7 separate regions of the Homo sapiens genome follow, and regions 1, 2, 3, 5, 6 and 7 are each linked to region 4. The links are contacts of gene promoters, found by promoter capture Hi-C in blood cells and fetal thymus (Javierre and others, 2016). All regions are on one chromosome and are shown on one strand. Each heading gives the region's core, a stretch centred on a gene start or on the middle of the fragment in contact. The rest is flanking DNA. Distances are from core to core; before and after follow the strand shown.

Evidence for each region. The method cuts DNA at HindIII sites, captures the fragments that hold promoters and counts their contacts. A CHiCAGO score of 5 or more calls a contact.
Region 1: a contact is called between a fragment that was not itself captured here and the fragment with the promoter of MOB1A in region 4, in 11 of 17 cell types (activated CD4 T cells, non-activated CD4 T cells, total CD4 T cells and 8 more). The highest score is 11.1, in activated CD4 T cells.
Region 2: a fragment that was not itself captured here is called in contact with the fragment with the promoter of MOB1A in region 4 in 1 of 17 cell types (activated CD4 T cells); the score reaches 5.2 in activated CD4 T cells.
Region 3: a contact is called between a fragment that was not itself captured here and the fragment with the promoter of MOB1A in region 4, in 5 of 17 cell types (fetal thymus, non-activated CD4 T cells, total CD8 T cells and 2 more). The highest score is 9.8, in fetal thymus.
Region 5: a contact is called between a fragment that was not itself captured here and the fragment with the promoter of MOB1A in region 4, in 4 of 17 cell types (activated CD4 T cells, fetal thymus, total CD8 T cells and 1 more). The highest score is 5.9, in activated CD4 T cells.
Region 6: a contact is called between a fragment that was not itself captured here and the fragment with the promoter of MOB1A in region 4, in 4 of 17 cell types (activated CD4 T cells, non-activated CD4 T cells, total CD8 T cells and 1 more). The highest score is 9.8, in activated CD4 T cells.
Region 7: a fragment that was not itself captured here is called in contact with the fragment with the promoter of MOB1A in region 4 in 1 of 17 cell types (fetal thymus); the score reaches 6.9 in fetal thymus.

What each region holds. Positions count from the first base shown.
Region 1 is chr2:73,845,669-73,848,368 of GRCh38, forward strand. It overlaps STAMBP (STAM binding protein), which reads left to right. Exons shown (of 10, transcript NM_213622.4): 5 at 1,719-2,085. The region is part of intron 1 of LOC112268419 (a long non-coding RNA gene); the gene reads right to left. Among named protein-coding and RNA genes, the nearest start is that of STAMBP, 18 kb to the left of the region's middle. The HindIII fragment of the contact is 1,702 bases long and covers 484-2,185 here.
Region 2 is chr2:73,752,458-73,755,157 of GRCh38, forward strand. No RefSeq gene overlaps it. Among named protein-coding and RNA genes, the nearest start is that of TPRKB, 16 kb to the left of the region's middle. RefSeq lists a silencer at 1,541-1,724. The HindIII fragment of the contact is 4,937 bases long and covers 1-2,700 here.
Region 3 is chr2:73,731,956-73,734,655 of GRCh38, forward strand. TPRKB (TP53RK binding protein) reads right to left here. Exons shown (of 5, transcript NM_016058.5): 2 at 2,474-2,636; 3 at 208-330. The coding sequence starts at 2,614. Among named protein-coding and RNA genes, the nearest start is that of TPRKB, 4.0 kb to the right of the region's middle. The HindIII fragment of the contact is 4,504 bases long and covers 1-2,700 here.
Region 4 is chr2:74,177,540-74,180,239 of GRCh38, forward strand. It overlaps MOB1A (MOB kinase activator 1A), which reads right to left and starts at 1,340. Exons shown (of 6, transcript NM_018221.5): 1 at 1,122-1,340. The coding sequence starts at 1,135. RefSeq lists an enhancer at 365-1,048 and a silencer at 912-1,101. The HindIII fragment of the contact is 1,935 bases long and covers 673-2,607 here.
Region 5 is chr2:74,532,845-74,535,544 of GRCh38, forward strand. HTRA2 (HtrA serine peptidase 2) reads left to right here. Exons shown (of 8, transcript NM_013247.5): 8 at 1-475. The coding sequence ends at 141. LOXL3 (lysyl oxidase like 3) reads right to left here. Exons shown (of 14, transcript NM_032603.5): 9 at 2,448-2,610; 10 at 1,687-1,930; 11 at 1,472-1,587; 12 at 1,256-1,392; 13 at 1,038-1,149; 14 at 1-835. The coding sequence ends at 762. Among named protein-coding and RNA genes, the nearest start is that of HTRA2, 4.3 kb to the left of the region's middle. The HindIII fragment of the contact is 3,138 bases long and covers 1-2,700 here.
Region 6 is chr2:73,861,835-73,864,534 of GRCh38, forward strand. STAMBP (STAM binding protein) reads left to right here. Exons shown (of 10, transcript NM_213622.4): 10 at 369-2,700. The coding sequence ends at 425. Among named protein-coding and RNA genes, the nearest start is that of ACTG2, 30 kb to the right of the region's middle. The HindIII fragment of the contact is 1,563 bases long and covers 504-2,066 here.
Region 7 is chr2:74,553,451-74,556,150 of GRCh38, forward strand. LOXL3 (lysyl oxidase like 3) reads right to left here and starts at 492. Exons shown (of 14, transcript NM_032603.5): 1 at 426-492. It overlaps DOK1 (docking protein 1), which reads left to right and starts at 1,270. Exons shown (of 5, transcript NM_001381.5): 1 at 1,270-1,364; 2 at 1,704-2,003; 3 at 2,125-2,218; 4 at 2,444-2,628. The coding sequence starts at 1,305. RefSeq lists a silencer at 612-1,361 and enhancers at 1,370-1,887, 1,512-1,571. The HindIII fragment of the contact is 1,450 bases long and covers 715-2,164 here.

The DNA.
Region 1 (2,700 bases), core at 85-2,584, 330 kb before region 4:
TCGCCTAGGCTGGAGTGCAGTGGCACGATCTCAGCTCACTGCAACCTCTGCCTCCCCGACTCAAGTGATTCTCCTACCTCAGCCTCCCGAGTGACTGGGACTACAGGCATCCGCCACCATACCCGGCTAATTTTTGTATTTTTAGTAGAGATGGGGTTTCACCATGTTGGCCAAGATGGTCTCAAACTCCTGACCTCAAGTGATCCGCCTGCCTCGGCCTTCCAAAGTGCTGGGATTACAGGCGTGAGCCGCTGCACCCAGCCATTTCAAGCTATTTTCAAATGATTCTTTTTAGGAAGTCAGTTAAAACATGTGGAGAAACTGCCAGGGCGCTGTCAGTGGCCAGCTGTGAATACATACTGCAGCCACTCACAGGCTGTTGTGTAGCTGTCTGCTGGTCTCTATTCTGGACTCTGATGTTGAAAATCAGCAGAGGGATGAACAGCTATGAGGTATATACTTCTAAAGCACCAAGTGAGTGTAAGCTTTAAGGAGGAGGTTATTACTTAGCATTTCTTTCTTTCTTTTTTTTTTTAATCCAAATGCCTCTCAAGTATTTCTTATTAGCTTAAAATGTCACTCTGTGTTGAACAAATGCACAAAAACCATAAAAATTTCAGAGGCCTCATTTTGGGTTAAAATTCAGTAGAAGGCAAGACGTGGTGGCTCATGCCTGTAATCCTAGCACTTTGGGAGCCTGAAGTGGGTGATCGCTTGAGCCCAGGAGTTCGAGACCAGCCTGGGCAACATGGTGAAACCCCATCTCTACAAAAAATACAAAAATTAGCTGGGTCTCTACAAAAAATACAAAAATTAGTGTGGTGGCACGCACCTCTGGTTTCAGCTACTCGGGAGGCTGAGATGGGAGGATCACCTGCGCCCAGGGAGATTGAGGCTGCAGTGAGCCATGATTGACCACTACAGTCCAGCCTAGGTGACAGAGTGAGACTCTCTAAGAAAAAAAAAAAAAATTCAGTAGAGACCCCCAAGATAGCAGGTATAAGTTTGGATCTGGTTCTATTTTATAGCCTTACTTGAAATATAGAATATGTACATGACACAGAGAGAAGAATAAAACTGTCTGTGATACAGGTTAGGAGAACACAGATAGTAAGTTGCATCAAGATTTCAGGCCAGACATTGTGGCTCACACCTGGAATCCCAGCGCTTCGGGAGGCCGAGGTGGGCAGATTGTTTGAGCCCAGGAGTTCAAGACTAGCCTGGGCAACATGGCGAAACCCTGTCTCTACAAAAAATACAAAAATTAGCCAGGTGTGGTGGTGCACACCTGTGGTCCCACCTACTCAGGAGGCTAAGGTGGGAGGATTGCTTGAGCCTGGGAGGTCAAGGCTGCAGTGAGCTGTGATCATGCCATTGCACTTCAGCCTGGGAAACAGAATGAGACCCTGTCTCAAAAAAAAAAAAAAAAAGATTTCAGTGAAGAGGAAAGTGCATTAGGTAGAGTCATTGTCGGGAGGGTATTGAGAGGATTGGGATTTTAATTGTCCTTGGAGATAGGTATACTGTGGCCAGATAGAAAGGGGTGGTGACTACACTCCGTGGGTATAAAGATACTGAGGAAAGCATGAATTCTGTGTTAGGTAATCAGGCCACAGCAGAAGTACATTTTGGAAATCTCCATGCTAAAAAGCCTTGTTCTCCTGAAGTGTGAAGTCACTGAGGTGTGAAGTGTTAGCCTAAATTTTCTCTCTTTGTAGAAGAAGGAAGCAGAGGAATTGGCCCGGAACATGGCCATCCAGCAAGAGCTGGAAAAGGAAAAACAGAGGGTAGCACAACAGAAGCAGCAGCAATTGGAACAGGAACAGTTCCATGCCTTCGAGGAGATGATCCGGAACCAGGAGCTAGAAAAAGAGCGACTGAAAATTGTACAGGAGTTTGGGAAGGTAGACCCTGGCCTAGGTGGCCCGCTAGTGCCTGACTTGGAGAAGCCCTCCTTAGATGTGTTCCCCACCTTAACAGTCTCATCCATACAGCCTTCAGACTGTCACACAACTGTAAGGCCAGCTAAGCCACCTGTGGTGGACAGGTCCTTGAAACCTGGAGCACTGAGCAACTCAGAAAGTAGTAAGTGCATTTGCTGATGTCCTCTTCCTTCTCAGTTGCAGCCAAACAGTATCATTCTGACGGGGTCAACCTAAGATTACCTCCCTGATCCCACTCATTAAGCTTTGGTCACAGAAACCCATCTGATAAGTATTGCTGTACTGTGTCCTAATACACTGGCTATGTTATAAAAGTGGCCTTTGCTGAAACCTAGTCTGGTCGATTTTCTGAAGAGCTAATATTATTCTTGAAAGTCAGACTGTCAACTTTTTAGTGAAAGGAAAAGAATGTGCCAAACCGAATTCATAATCCTCAGATAACATCATCAGACTGCTGTGTGACTCTGTGTCCCCTGCTCTGACTTTGTTACCTCTCTAGCAATTCAGATCTTGCTGTTGAATACGCAAAAGCAGAACATCTTTCCCCTCCCACTTTTTTTTTTTAAATATGAAAATATAGCTGTGAGAGACACTTCCTAACTTTAGCTTGCTGGCTGTCTCACAGAGTTTCTCCATGGTGTTCAGAAACTGGGTCCATTCTTGGCATTTTTTATGAGCTGCTTTGTTCATGCCTTTTTTGGGGGACTACACTGTATTTTTTATTTTGTTGTGGTTTGGCATTTAACTTCTTCCAGAA
Region 2 (2,700 bases), core at 30-2,529, 430 kb before region 4:
GCAGGAAACAATCACCCCTGGCCAATAGACTCAGTCCCTAACACAGAGACCAGGTGCGATGTAAATGGTGGGGCCTTTCCCACTTAGGACACTATGAGAACCACATCCTTGAAGGTTTGAGGAAAGGGGTTACTCAGGTTAAGAGCCTCAATAAGGTACAGGAAGTACAGCGGCAAGCATATGAGGACCCTTTGTAATTCCCAGAAAGACTCCATCAGACATGTGGAAAGTAGGTTGACGCTAACTAACCCTGAGGCACCGGACAATCAGAGAATGGTCAATGTGACCTTTATCAGCCACAGTGCCCTGATATTCAAAGAAAACTGCAAAAGGTAAATGGGATCCTTGGGTTGCCAATCTCACATTTAGTGGACTTAGCTTTTAAAGTGTACTATGCTCAGGATGAGGCTCAGGAAAGTGCAAATTGAAGCAACAAGTAACTCACTGGCAGCTGTGCTTGACTACCAACCTAGGGGAAAAGGAAGAAATCAAAGAGCGGCTCACGCCCCCTTCAGAAAAAAAACCAATATGCCTATTGTAAGAAGGAGGGACACTGGAAAAAGGGCTGTCCCAAATTGACCAAAGCAGCTAGCAAGTGCAGTGTCCCTCAAAATCAGATGAGGAGAGAGAATAATATTTAGATGAAGACTGATGTGTCCCAGGGACTCCCTTAGACTTGGAGCAACCAGTGGCTATATCCCCACAGGATTCCTAGATACAACTGACAGTGGGGAACAGAATGATTGACTTTTTACTTGACACAGTGCCACATATTAATTAATTAACAATTGTCTCTCTCCAGCTTTGGGAAAAACCATTACTGTTACACGGATATTGGGAGACACCATTATCCCTTTCTACAATCTTCAGGTTACCATTTACGAGAGACCGGCCTAGGGCATAGTTTCTTGTACATGCTTAATGCCCAGTGCCCCTCCTGGGCTGGGATTTGCTTGCCAAATTGTATGCTCAACTTGTCTTTCCCCCCAGATGCCTAGATATAATGATTCCTTCTGAACAAGTTTGCAGGTTTCAAATACTCCTGCTGCAACCAGAAAACGAAGAGGTTCAGGACATTCCAGAAGAAATTCTCACACAGGTAAGGAGAGATGTTTGGGCCCAAGGGAAGCCAGGGAGAGTGGTCACAGCCAAACCCATAAAAATTAAAAGAGAGACACAGAATACCCATTAAAGGAAGTGGCATGAAAGGGTATTCAACCACTCTTGGAAGGCTTTTTTGGCACAAGGACTGATTTGGTCCTGTAATTCTCCCTTTAACATTCCTGTTCTACGGTGGGCAGCAAGCCACCCAGGTGCTGAGGCAAGAGACCGAGGGCACAAGTTGTTCCAGTATAATAAAATATATAAAACAACAAGAGTTATACTAGATCTAAATCATAGACATGATTATATATGAATATCATTAATCATTAGTTTGTAGCAATTACTCTTTATTCCAATACTGTAATAATCCTCGCTCTATAATCATAACCTAGGAAAAACCAGGCCATACAGAGATAGGAACCGAAGGGACATAGTGAGTGAGAAGTGATCAGAAGACAAGAGTGCAAGCCTTCTGTTATGCCCGGACAGGGCCACCAGAGGGCTCCTTGGTCTAGTGGTAATGCCAGCGTCTGGGAAGACGCCCATTGCCAAGCAGACCGTGGTCTAGCAGTAGCATCAGTGTCAAGGAAAAACACCCGCTACTTAGCAGACCGGGAAAGGGAGTCTCCCTTTCCCTGGGGGAGTTTAGAGGAGATTCTACTCCTCCACCTCTTATGGAGGGCCTGACATCAGTCAGGCCCGCCCGCAGTTATCCGGAGGCCTGACCCTGTCTCCCTGTGATGCTGTGCTTCAGTGGTCACGCTCCTAGTCTGCTTTCAAGTTCCATCCTGTACACCTGGCTCTGCCTTTTAGATAACAGTAGCAAAATTAATGAAAGTACTAAAAGTCTCTGATATGCAGAAATAATGGCGTAAGCTGTCTCTCTCTCGCTCTCCCTCTCTCTGCCTCGGCTGCCAGGCAGGGAAGGGCCCCCTGTCCAGTGGACACGTGACTCACGTGACCTTATCAATCACTAGAGATGACTCACACTCTTTACCCTGCCCCTTTTGCCTTGTATCCAATAAATAACAGTGCAGCCAGGCATTCGGGGCTACTACTGGTCTCTGCATCTTGGTGGTAGTGGTCCCCCAGGCCCAGCTGTCTTTTATCTCTTTGTCTTGTGTCTTTATTTCTACAATCTCTCGTCTCCACACATGGGGAGAAAAACCCACTGACCCTGTGGGGCTGGTCCCTACATCTTACCATCATGCAAGTCCCATTAAGACAACTACAGTTTCGGCTGGGCGTGGTGGCTCACGCCTGTAATCCCAGCACTTTGGGAGGCCGAGGCGGGCGGATCACGAGGTCAGGAGATCAAGACCATCCTGGCTAACATGGTAAACCCCATCTCTACTAAAAATACAAAAAAGTTAGCCAGGCGTGGTGGCAGGCACCTGTAGTCCCAGCTACTCAGGAGGCTGAGGCAGGAGAATGGCTTGAACCTGGGAGGCGGAGCTTGCAGTGAGCCGAAATCGTGCCACTGCACTCCAGGCTGGGTGACAGAGCGAGATTCGTCTCAAAAAAAAAAAAGACAACTACAGTTTGTACAAGACTTAGGGCCAGTAATGAAACAGTCTAGGACATACACCCTATGGT
Region 3 (2,700 bases), core at 147-2,646, 450 kb before region 4:
TAATTTAGCTAAATTTTTGTTTACTCATATGTAAACTGTCTTAGTAAGAGGCAGGGTTAAACCTCAACTCTCTGTCCAGAGCTCTCTTCACTATTATTTGGGTTTATTACTAACCACTGGCTTGCAGGAATTTAGCCTCCAACCCAACACTGAGGAACACATATGTTATTATGACACGGTCAACAGAAATAGGAAAGTGCACATTACATTGTTATTTGGGGAAAGGTTGAAAATAATTTCAGTAGATAGAGTTCTTGTCTTCATTTTTCCCAGTTTGTAGAGGTGAACTGCTTTGTTTGCTGCCACAAGTATCTGAAATGGATCAACAATCTACCAAAGCAAGGAAAAAGAATTAATTACACATGGAGAATCTGCAGTGCCTGAAAACACATGGTAACTCATGGTTAACTCCAGTGTCAAGCTGTTTTACTTCATCACAATTCTTACGGTCTGTATTTTCAAAACTATTATCCCGGCTGGGCACGGTGGCTCACACCTGTAATCCTAGCACTTTGGGAGGCCAAGGTGGGTAGATCACCTGACGTCAGGGTTCAAGACCAGCCTGGCCAACACGGCGAAACCCTCTCTACTAAAAATACAAAAATTAGTCAGGCGTGGTGGCACGCACCTGTAATCCCAGCAACTCAGGAGGCTGAGGCAGGACAATTGCTTGAACCCGGGAGGCAGAGGTTGCCGTGAGCCAAGATCGCGCCATTGCACTCCAGCCTGGGCAACAAGAGTGAAACTGTCTCAAAAAAAAAAAAAACAAAAAACAACTATTATCCCAAGGGCCTGGGTAGTCAGGAAATCACAGAATTTTAAAGCTGCAAGGAACTTATGCAAATAGTAAAATTTTTTTAAATAACATTAATTGAGGGCTAATATTATGGGCATGATCATATTGCAAACATTTTACTTGTAATATTTTCTTTAATCCTCAAAACTACCCTATGAAATTGACACTATTATTAGTAGTAGTAGCAGTAGTAGTAGTATGTAATTGATGAGGAAATTGAGGCAAAGAATGTCTGGGTTTGAATCCCATCTCTGTCACCTATCACCTAGGAAACTTATGCAAGTTCATTAGCATTTTATTTGTTAGAGACCGATGAAACAGTATTCACTCCATAGGCTGTTGTGAAGATTAAGCAAGTTAGTATACGTAAAGCACTTGGAACAATGCTAGGAATGCAGTAAGCACTATATAAAGGTTGGTTATGTCTTGTTCAAAGGCCTAAGTAGTAGGTCTGGGATTAATTCCCGGTAACATGATCGCACTGCGTGTGCCCTGTTTTTTTGTTTTTTTTTTTTTTTGGAGACAGACAGAGTCTCTCGCTCCATTGCCCAGGCTGGAATGCAGTGGCTCAATCTCAATTCACTGTAACCTCCGCCTCCCAGGTTCAAATGATTCTTGTGCCTCAGCCTCCCGAGTAGCTGGGACTACCAGCACACACCACCACACCCAGCTACTTTTTGTATTTTTAGTAGAGACACGGTTTCACTATGTAGGCCAGGCTGGTCTCAAACTCCGGGCCTCAAGCAATCCACCCACCTTGGCCTCTGTGTGTACTCTTAACCACTACACTATTCCTCCTCTACAGACTGTCTTGTTAGGAACCCCCATTTTAAAGATGAGAAGCTGGAGATCCAGGCATTTCCCATATTAGACCCAGACCACAACCTTTCCTATTTCCTAGGGCAGGACCTGGCACTTCTGCCTCTATTCACTGTTATAGTCAAAGTTGGCTGCATCTGACTTGGACAAGAATTTTTTCCCTAACCGTGACAGATTTTTAGGCTACCCTATAACATCACAAATATTAATGTATACTTAAATGCCCTGTATGGCTCATTCATTCTTTTTTTTTTTTTTTTTTTTTGAGGCGGATTCTTGGTCTGTTGCCCAGGCTGGAGTGCAGTGGCACAATCTCGGCTCACTGCAACCTCTGCCTCCCAGGCTCAAGCGATTCTCCTGCCTCAGTCTCCTGAGTACAGGTGCCCACCACCATGCTCAGCTAATTTTTGTATTTTTAGTAGAGACAGGGTTTCACCATATTGGCCAGGCTGGTCTCAAACTCCTGACCTCATGATCTGCCTGCCTCGGCCTCCCAAAGGGCTGGGATTACAGGCGTGAGCTACCATGCCTGGCCATTTTTTTTTTCCAGACAGAGTTTTGCTCGTCGCCCAGGCTGGAGTGCAATGGCGCAATCTTGGCTCACTGCAACCTCTGCCTCCAGGGTTCAAATGATTTTCCTGCCTCAGCCTCCCGAGTAGCTGGGATTATAGGCGCCCGCCACCACGCCCAGCTAATTTTTGTATTTTTAGTTGAGACAGGGTTTCACCATGTTGGCCAGGCTGGTCTTCAACTCCTGACCTCAGATGATCCACCCGCCTCGGCCTCCTAAAGTGCTGGCATTACAGGCGTGAGCCACCGCACCCAGCAGGCTCATTCATTCTTAAAATTTATATTTACCACTGTAGGATTTATCAGTGATCCATCGATGGTGCCTTCCATGGCCTTTCTTCTCAAGTCTCCCGCATTTTTTACATCTTTAAATAACAGAAGGGTTACCCTGCATTCGGGAAATAGGTCCAGCTGATGTGTTAACTGCATTTCACAGATAAGCAGGATTCTACTGCACACAAAATGAAAAGACCAAAAGATTTCATTTAAAAGTTAACATCAGAACTCATTTCTTA
Region 4 (2,700 bases), core at 90-2,589:
AGAATAACCCAAAGGAAGGAAAATGAGACGCAGATAAACATATTCTGAGTAGTGCTATTTTATAATAGTAAATACTGGAAGGAATCCCAGTTTCTCACAATAAAGTGGGTAAACTCTGGTTATAAAAAATAAAAAAAAAACTATATAGTGTTTTTATATTGTATTTAATAAAAATGTCAAGCATGTGGATTACATCCATAACTAAAATTGGATAATTATTCAATCACAAAACACACATTTAAGCAATATACAAGGTAGAGAGAGACACCTGAGAATAAAAAATACTGTGCCAGAGCAATGCTTCTCAAACCTTAATGTGCATAAGAATCATCAGGGAATTTACAAGCTTTTTCATTTTAGCCTTGTTTGGTTGGGCTCAGGCATTATCTCTAAAATGAGATTCTAAGGTATGCCTATCAAGTTAATTGCTGTAGTGCACTAAAATGGCAATACTGTGTTTCTGCAATGGGACTATGAATTTGTTTTAACTTTCCAAATTATTTATAATACTGCAATGTACTATATAATAATGCTGTATGGTATATTACATAATGATTAAAAACACAGGATTCTACCGAGGACAAGAGAAGTTGGTTAAAATCAAAGCCAGTAAGTGGGCAGAATCAGAACTGGACAGAACGATCCGACTCCAAGGCCAGCATCTTAACTTCAAGCTTCTCAAACTGCGGCAACGCACATTCTCCTGGGGCGGCATTTAACACCGACAATAATGAAACTGGACCTATAACCGAGCAACGAGTTAAGTCGGCAAGGACGGTTTCTAGAAGCTCGAGACAAGAGAAACTGGGGGCTCGCGGCTCCGCCCCCAGATCGTCTCCCCGCCCTCGGGGGCGCTCGGGCGGAAAAGTTTGGAGGCGCGACGGCCCCGGGGCCTTTCTACTCCCCAGCCTTCACGCTCCGTTTCCTTTACTTCGACCTTCATCTCTGTCGGCCTCTCCCAACATCTCGGCCTCCCCCGCGGACCCGAACAGAGGCAAAACAAACGCCAGCTACCCCGCCCCCGCCTCGGCCCCCAGGCCGAGCCCTCGCCTCAGGTCCGGGGAGGCCTCCCCCACAACCTCGGCCCGCAGGCCCGGCGCCCGCGGCCCGACCCCACTCACAAGAGGAAGCTCATCTTCGGTCCTCAGAGGGGAGGCGAGGGGCCCCTGGCCCCCGCCTGGATCAGGATTCGGAGCTGGCTAGAGGGAGCGGACCGTCCTTAGCTCACGGGCAGCGGAAGCCGGGCCGCCGCCGCTCGGAGCCGGGTTTCTGGCCGCTGCGAGCCTTTGCAAACCTCGGCGCCCGCCTTGCCCGCCTACCCCACCTCGCAGACCCGAAATGCGGAACCAACAAAATCTCGCGAGCTAAGGTTTCGCTGCGCCGGGAGGGACTTGTCGCGCCCCCTTTCGCTCCGCCTCGTCCTAGAACTCGGCCAATCATCGCTCTCCAAGCCAGGACCTCCCTCCCCCGGAGGCGTGGCGAGGATGGCGGTCCTGCGGAAGGGGCAGTGGCTGGTCCTGCTCTTAGAGTATCTTGGTGCTGCTGGGTTTCGATCCCGCTCCCTAGGTTATGCAGGGACCTCTATAAGCGCTGCGTACTCCTGCAATTTTTAAAATTGTTAATTTAATTTTTACTTGAAATATATTCACATAGCATAAAATCTGTCCTTTAAACATGTACCCTCTAGTGGTCTTTTTCGGTTTTTTCTTTCTTTTTTTTTTTTTTTTCTGAGGTGTCTCGCTCTGTCGCCCAGACTGGAGTTCACAGTTCACTGCAGCCTGGACTTCCTGGGCTTAAGTGATCCTCTCGCCTCAGCCTCCCGAGTAGCTGAGACCACAGGTGCCTGCCACCACGCCCGGCTAATTTTCTCAAAGTTTTTGCAGAGACGAGCGTCTCACTGTGTTGCCCAAGCTGGTCTTGGACTCCTGAGCTCAAGGGATCCTCCTGGTTTGACCTCCCAAAATGCTGGGATCACAGGTGTGAGCCACTGCCTCCGGCTTTGTTTATGTTTTCAAAGTGTGCCAACCATCAGCACTAATTTTTTTTTTTTTTTTGACAGAGTCTCACTTTGTAACCCAGGCTGGAATGCAGTGGTGCAATCTCGGCCCGTTGCAACCTCTGCCTTCCAGATTCAAGTGATTCTCATGCCTCAGCCTCCCGAGTAGCTGGGATCACAGTCGTGCGCCACCACACCCGTCTAATTTTTGTATTTTTTTTTTTTTTTTTTTTTAGTAAAGACGGGGTTTCGCCATGTTGGCCAGGCTGGTCTCGGTCTTGAACTCCTGACCTCAAGTGGTCCACCCGCCTCGGCCTCCCAAAGCTGGGATTACAGGCGTGAGCCACCGCGCCCAGCCTAACCATAATTTTAGGCCATTTTCATCACCCCGAAAAGAAACCCCATACCTATTAGCAGTTACTCTTTATTACCCACCTCCCTCCTCCCAACCCCTGGCAACCACTACTCTACTTTCTATTTCCATGGATTTACCTAATCTGGACATTTCATATACACTGTGAATGGAAGCATACATTATGTGGTCTTTTGTGACTGACTTCTTTCACTTAGCATAATGTTTTAAAACGCACCCATATTGTAGCATGTATCAAAGCTTCATTACTGGCCAGGCACAGTTGTGGCTTACGCCTGTAATCCCAGCACTTTGGGAGTCTGAGGCTGGCGGATCACTTGAGCTCAGGAGT
Region 5 (2,700 bases), core at 125-2,624, 360 kb after region 4:
ATTTTGGCCATTGGGGAGCAGATGGTACAAAATGCTGAAGATGTTTATGAAGCTGTTCGAACCCAATCCCAGTTGGCAGTGCAGATCCGGCGGGGACGAGAAACACTGACCTTATATGTGACCCCTGAGGTCACAGAATGAATAGATCACCAAGAGTATGAGGCTCCTGCTCTGATTTCCTCCTTGCCTTTCTGGCTGAGGTTCTGAGGGCACCGAGACAGAGGGTTAAATGAACCAGTGGGGGCAGGTCCCTCCAACCACCAGCACTGACTCCTGGGCTCTGAAGAATCACAGAAACACTTTTTATATAAAATAAAATTATACCTAGCAACATATTATAGTAAAAAATGAGGTGGGAGGGCTGGATCTTTTCCCCCACCAAAAGGCTAGAGGTAAAGCTGTATCCCCCTAAACTTAGGGGAGATACTGGAGCTGACCATCCTGACCTCCTATTAAAGAAAATGAGCTGCTGCCATCTTTTGTGGGCAGTTAGTCAGGTGCTGCTCTTTGTGGTGTGGTGGGCTCTGGTCTGTTCTGCTCGGTGCTGGGCCTGGGAGCAAAGATTCCCATGCTTGGCTACAGATACTGACAGCTGGCCTCTGAAGGAGGGTGAAAACTTCTGCTTGACAGTTCCACATCCATAGTGCATGGTCTGATGAGTGCGGTTGCTGACATGGGTTTCTTGGTAAGCTCCTGAGGTAATGGCAGCCTCAGACCCCTGCCATTAGGGGCCAGTGGTGGTTTGCAGAGGGCAGTGGCACTTAGATAATCTGGTTGCTGGTCTGGCCAGGGTAGCGTTCAAACCTCCTGTTGGCCTCTTCACTGAAGGCATCACCTGCAGAGTGGACAGGCAATTTGGGAGGCGCCCTGCACAGAGGGAGGGAGATAGATGCACTGTGGAGAAGGGTGGGTAGAAGTGGAGGGACTGAGAGCTCTACAGGAAGGTGGGAAGATGGAGAAACAAGCTATGGAAAAGAGAATGAACGTCTTTCCCTCCCATCCCCTAATCTTCCTGGGTTGCTCTTCCCATCAAATACCAATGTGGCAGTTGTGCACCCAGATTCTATGTCCATCATATTTGCAGTTACATTTCATTGCATTGTTGGTAAAGTCACTCTCTGCTACTTCAAAGTTTGGGTTGATGACAACCTGTGAGTGAGAAAAAGGCCACTTAACCCAGCGACAATCCTCGAATTCAAAGGTGTCTTTAACGCTCCCCCCACTCACCCATCTGGAAGCCCCAGACTCCAGGTACCTGGAGAATGTAGTTTCCTGGCTTCACATCCGTGATGTCAATCCACTGACAGTCAATGTCATGCCGGTAGAGATCCCAGCAACCCACAGTGATGCCTTGCTCTCCAAAGTTGGCACACTCATACCGCTTGGAGACATCTGGAGGGATTGGCATATGTCAGTGTAAGGAAAGGCTGTGCAATGGATACCATGTGGTTCACTTCAGTCCCCAACTCACCCTCCTGACACTCAGTGTCTTCGAGACAGAAACTAGCTTTGTGGCCCTCAGCCACCTTGGTGCCATTTGGGGTGAGGATATCATAGTGAGTGAAGATGTCCATGCTGTGGTAATGCCTGTGGGGAGAAGGGAACTTCTGTTTCCTTCTCTGCCCCCAGAAGGTTTGCCCCATCCCCCGTGGTCTTGCCCTTCTACTTGACTCCCTACCCTCTCACCCATGGCACTCGTGCCACACCCAGGAGTGGCGCCCAGCCTTGGGCCTGAAGTCAGCTCGTCCCAGGTTGTGGATCTGGGAGGAGAATCGGAGCAGACGCCGGTGACCATAGGGCCAGTTGGCTGAGCGGGCTGAGCTGGCCAGGCAGTTCTCTTCCGCAGCACAGTACAACATATGCAGGGGCCGGTCTTCGATGTAGGCGGTCTCCTGCACCAGTGCTGAGTGCAGCAACAGATCTGATGCAGCTGCACCAAGAAAGGAAGGGGGTGTTAGAAGTCACTGCTGACTTCACAGAGAGGGGTGCTTCCATCCCTCCCTAGTGTGTAAGACTAGTTTTTTGTTTTTGTTTTTGTTTGTTTGTTTGTTTGAGATGGAGTCTCACTCTGTTGCCGAGGCTGGAATGCAGCGGCGTGATCTTGGCTCACTGCAACCTCTGCCACCTGGGTTCAAGTGATTCTCCTGCCTCAGCCTCCCGAGTAGCTGGGATTATAGGCGCCTGCCACTGCGCCTGGCTAATTTTTGTAGTTTTAGTAGAGACAGGGTTTCACCATCTTGGTCAGGCTGGTCTTGAATTCCTGACCTCGTGATCCATCCGCCTTGGCCTCCTAAAGTGCTGGGATTACAGGCGTGAGCCACTGCACCCGGCGAAACTGGCTCTTTTATGGGGAAGAAGTGCCCCTCCAGATTACAGCCCCCTTTCCCTGCAAACGGGTGGCCCAGACACTCCCTTCCCTGGCATGCATCACCCCCTCCTTCACTCACTCTCAGAACAGATGACTCCAGCAGTGAAGCGGGTCCCTGTCCTCTTGCAGGTGATGTGGGTGCCATGATGGGCACACTGATCCAGGGACAGCTCAGTCCCTGTGCAGCGCACTCCACTCATCACCACCTCTGTTATATTCCCAGAGTCCCAGTACCAGGTCTCCTGGGGACATATGCAGATGTTTCTGTAAGGCCCAGGATCCAGCATCTTGGGCCAAGGGACTCATTCCTCAGCCCTCTGCCCAAAACACAG
Region 6 (2,700 bases), core at 35-2,534, 320 kb before region 4:
GTTTTTTAAAATGACTTTTCAGGCCGGGCACGGTGGCTCACGCCTATAATCCCAATACTTTGGGAGACTGAGGCAGGCAGATTACTTGAGGTCAGGAGTTCAAGTCCAGGCTGACCAACATGGCGAAACCCCACCTCTACTAAAAACACAAAATTAGCCAGGCATGGTGGCTCGTGCCTGTAATCCCAGCTACTGGGAAAGCTAAGGCAGAAGAATCGCTTGAACCCAGGAGGCGGGGGTTGCAGTGAGCCGAGATCGTGCCACTGCACTCCAGCCTGGGCAACAGAGCAAGACCCTATATGAAGAAAAAAAAAAAAAAGACTTTTCAGAATTTTCTAGGACTCCACCTTTCTTTTTTCCTATTGCAGAGCTGCAGCCACGTGACTGTTGTGGACAGAGCAGTGACCATCACAGACCTTCGATGAGCGTTTGAGTCCAACACCTTCCAAGAACAACAAAACCATATCAGTGTACTGTAGCCCCTTAATTTAAGCTTTCTAGAAAGCTTTGGAAGTTTTTGTAGATAGTAGAAAGGGGGGCATCACCTGAGAAAGAGCTGATTTTGTATTTCAGGTTTGAAAAGAAATAACTGAACATATTTTTTAGGCAAGTCAGAAAGAGAACATGGTCACCCAAAAGCAACTGTAACTCAGAAATTAAGTTACTCAGAAATTAAGTAGCTCAGAAATTAAGAAAGAATGGTATAATGAACCCCCATATACCCTTCCTTCTGGATTCACCAATTGTTAACATTTTTTTCCTCTCAGCTATCCTTCTAATTTCTCTCTAATTTCAATTTGTTTATATTTACCTCTGGGCTCAATAAGGGCATCTGTGCAGAAATTTGGAAGCCATTTAGAAAATCTTTTGGATTTTCCTGTGGTTTATGGCAATATGAATGGAGCTTATTACTGGGGTGAGGGACAGCTTACTCCATTTGACCAGATTGTTTGGCTAACACATCCCGAAGAATGATTTTGTCAGGAATTATTGTTATTTAATAAATATTTCAGGATATTTTTCCTCTACAATAAAGTAACAATTAACTTATGTTTTTGTGCTTCAGAGTGATCCATTTGATCAAGCATTGTATAAACAGGTTAAAAAAAAGGTATGGTTGTTTTGGAAAGGTGAAGGAAAAATGGAATTTGAGATATACTGACACTGATGGTGTGTCCCAGTTCACTTTTAATTACTCCTTGTTTTTTATCTGCCTGTTGCCATCTTCCAGAGGTGTTGTGAAGTCATCTCTGTTCTTTTGGTGCTGTCTCAAATGGGTCAACCATTCACTTCCTCCTTATGCCCTCCATGCTTTTGGCTGAGGATAATGAAGCCTTTGTTTGGAGTACCAGGTTACACTCCAATAAATGATTACATTTCCCAGCCACCCCACCCTACCAATTTCATTGTGTTGGCTGTTCTTTTCTGACTAAGGCAATACCTAGGAAAACGCTTGAAGCAGCAATTGTTACTGCAATTTTCTGTGAGCTGAGCCTGGTGTTCTAGGTGGCCTAGAAATAATGGTGTCATTTGTGACACCTCGAGTGAGGGCAGGAGAGTAAATACTTTGGCTAGGAGAAGAGTGATTTATTCTTTATCAGAATTCTAGGTGGGGGAGGGAGAATCTGTGAATGCATAAAGTTTTCTTCATTTTTAAATTTTGTCTCAGTCTTTATTGCTTAGGTTAGTGGTCCTTGAACTTGTCCCCTGAAAGAGCCCAGTTCTCTATATTCTTTTTCTTCTCTTGGGTTCTTAATTCCCCATATAGTGGAAATTCCTTCTTTGCTGTTTTGGTATGGGTGGGTCTGGGGGCCAGCTGGGCTTGGACAAGCCATTTCCTGCTGCAGCCCAGAGCAGCCTGGCTGTTCCACCTTGCTCTAAACAGTCCTGAAATTGCCCAGTCCTCTGCTTTTGGGAAATCCATCCCCTTCTTCCCATTCTTTGTCTACCACTTAGCTTAGGGCTTTCTTACCTTTTATTTCGACTGTAGCCGTTGGCTTTTACCAAGTCTCTTTGTTTTTAGCATTTCTTCATTCCAGTCTGTTCTGCACACTTTGATCAGGAGAAGCTTCTCACATTCCAGCCATGTTCATGTTTTCTCTCTTGCTCAAAAACCTGCAATAGCTTCCCATTGCTGAAAATCTAAATTTAGCTTTTAGTCAGAACTTTCCACTTAAAGTTCTTACCCCTGGCTATATATTCAAATATCTAGGGAGCAATTTAAAAAATACTGATGCCTGTGTTCTACCCCCCACCAATTAAAGCTGAATCTCTAGGGTGGAGCCTCAGATGTTGTTTCTGCATTTGTCTTTCAAGCTGCTAGAATTCTCAAGTACAACCAGGGTTGACAACCACTGCATTGGTCTTTGATACCTAAGAATTGTGAGCTCTCTTATCCGTCTCTGCCCACCAAAGACATTCAGCCAGGTCAACAACATATCATACGTTGCAACCACATTGATCACAGACTGATCACCAAACTGCTATATTTTCTTTTCTCTTCCTCTAGGCACAAGATATCTTAGTGGCTAGATGGGTGCAGGAAATCAGTCTGTAGATCCCTCTTCATATCTGCTGCAGCCTAGCCACTGCAGAGGCACTCTGCATAGGATGGTCTAAGTGTCTCTGTCTTCATCTTACCTCTGTGGAGGAGACGTGGAATCAAGCCAGCCCACAAGCCCTGAGACTGGATAGGCCGGA
Region 7 (2,700 bases), core at 190-2,689, 380 kb after region 4:
AACACCACCATCCCTGTCACCGGGCAACGGGAGGCCAGGCGCTATGGCTCCTCAGCCAAGGCCTTCTCTGCCTAGGGCTGAGAACAGCCCCTCTACAGCAAGCCCCCGTCAACATGCTTCCCCCAACCCAAACAATCAATCCAACAAGGCAGCTTTGTTCTGGGTTGGGGACCCAGGGGCAGCGCCTCCCGGAGGAGCCCCCTCCCTTAGGGCGCTCCTGGCGGCCCTGTTCGAACACCCGTAGCCCCCGCCTCCGGTATGTGCCTCCTCCGTGTACTCTGTCTCACTTGCCCTTTGACAAGAATCAAACTCTCAGTTGGGTGGCTTCCCCTCGACTCCATCCCACACCACCCGTTTTCCCTGGTCCCTCCACATCCTCTCCATCCCCTACTCATTCCCTCTGCGGTTAGCGTGACTCCCCCTACCTTGGCCGAGCAGGACCCTAAGGGCTGGGAGAAGAGTGCTGGTCCTGGAGATCAGTCCTAGGACTTCCAAAAAAAAAAAAAAATGCTCGGCCAGGGGAGACTGGACCCCCCTCTCTCCCCCTTCTCCGTTCGTCCCTCCCACATCCCCCTGAGCCCTCCCACATTCCGCCTTCTCCTTCCATTCCTCCCGGCCAGTTCCCTCCTCTCCTCCTCTGGGTCCTCCCTCCCCGTGGAGCTGGCCACTGCCGCGCCCCCTCCCCCTCCCTGGCCCTCCCGGCTCGTTCAATGAAGCTTTCTCTTCCCGCGGCATGGAGGCCAGGCCTCTGCGGTCAGGGAGCTGACATGCAAGCGGCGGCCGGGCGGCGGGGCGGCCCCGGTGGTGGCGGGAAGCGGTTCAACCCCAGCCCTCCCTCCGAGTCCCGGGCCAGCGGAGTCTAAACAGCCCGGCTCGGGCGGGGCTGGGGGCGGGCCCGGCCAGGGTAAATAAAGCCCCGGAGGCCCGTGTGGGTCTCTCCGGTGCCCGGGGCGCTTTCGGGGTGATGTCATGGCTTTCACTCTGACGTCACCTTGGGCATATGACGTCACGCGCAGCCACCACGCCCAGAGGCCAGGGCCCTCGCGCCAAAACCGAGGACTTTCGGTGGAGCCACTGGCGCGCCCCCACGACGGCGGGTAGGGGCCTGGGGTGCTGCAGCTCCCGGCTAATCCGGGGGTCTCCACCATTCCTTCTCGCTCCTCTCCCTCACCCCACCGCGACCCCCCCAGCGGCTGCCGGCGGGGGCCGGGGAGGGGCGGAAACTCCTCCAGGGAACCCGGCCCCGCCTCCCGCCCCGCCTCCCGCCGCAGGGCCAGGAAGCGCGGAAGGAACCGCCGGGGGCCATGGACGGAGCAGTGATGGAAGGGCCGCTTTTTTTGCAGAGTCAGCGCTTTGGGACCAAGGTAGTCTGGCGCATGGATGCCGAACCTTATCCGGGCTAGTAGTGGGTGAGAGAGCCCAGAAACAGGGAGAGGTGGGCAGCGGGCTGGAGAGCGGCGCCGGGAGTTGGAGAGCCTGTGACTTTCCCGTGAAGTTGCTTTGCACACTCCCGGGAAGCGTCTGTAGTCTAGGGGTTCTGGTCCTGGGGAGACGGAGTGGCATCGTCCTTGGGAAACTTCGCCCCCAACCCCGTTTGGAAGCCCCAGATCCCAAATCGACTTGCGCCGCAACCTCCTTCCCCGTCGGGACCCGGGCCGCCTGCGCACGCCACTCCCTCTCGAGCACTCTCTCTCTCTCCCTAGAGGTGGAGGAAGACCTGGGCCGTGCTCTACCCGGCCAGTCCCCACGGCGTAGCGCGGCTCGAGTTCTTTGACCATAAGGGGTCGAGCTCTGGGGGTGGCCGAGGGAGCTCGCGCCGCCTGGACTGCAAAGTGATCCGTCTGGCTGAGTGTGTGAGTGTGGCCCCCGTCACCGTGGAGACCCCCCCTGAGCCCGGCGCCACTGCCTTCCGCCTGGACACTGCTCAGCGCTCGCACCTGCTGGCGGCCGACGCGCCGTCCAGTGCAGCCTGGGTGCAGACGCTGTGCCGAAACGCCTTTCCGGTGAGGAGCTGCGGCGATGCGGGGTGGGGGCAGTTACAGAGGCAGAGAAATGGGGCTGCCTCAGACCGACCCCCGCTCCCCGCTGAGGAAATTACGGGTTTCTCGATGCTCTCTACTACAGAAAGGCAGCTGGACTCTGGCGCCTACCGATAACCCACCTAAGCTTTCTGCCCTGGAGATGCTGGAGAACTCCTTGTACAGCCCTACCTGGGAAGGTAGACGCCTCAGAAGCCCGGGCAGGGATGGAGTGAAGAGGAGGAGGGCCGAGGGCCTTTGGGAAGTGGGTGGATACCCAGGGGCCCATGGGGAAGTAAGAAGTAGGAAGGCCCTGAGATCTGGCTTCCGAGTGAGTGCTTGGACACTATGCTCATGAGTCCTCTGGGTCCCCACTGCTGCCCCCGTCCCTCCCCCGCAGCTGTCTAATCGTGTATGCCTTCCAGGATCCCAATTCTGGGTAACGGTGCAGAGGACTGAGGCCGCCGAGCGCTGTGGCCTGCATGGCTCCTACGTGCTGAGGGTGGAGGCTGAAAGGCTGACTCTCCTGACCGTGGGGGCCCAGAGTCAGATACTGGAGCCACTCCTGTCCTGGCCCTACACTCTGTTGCGTCGCTATGGCCGGGACAAGGTGCAGGGGCTGTCCGGGAGGGCTTCCTGGGTTGGGCAGCTGTGGGAGGGGTGGGGCAGGACAGAAAGTGGG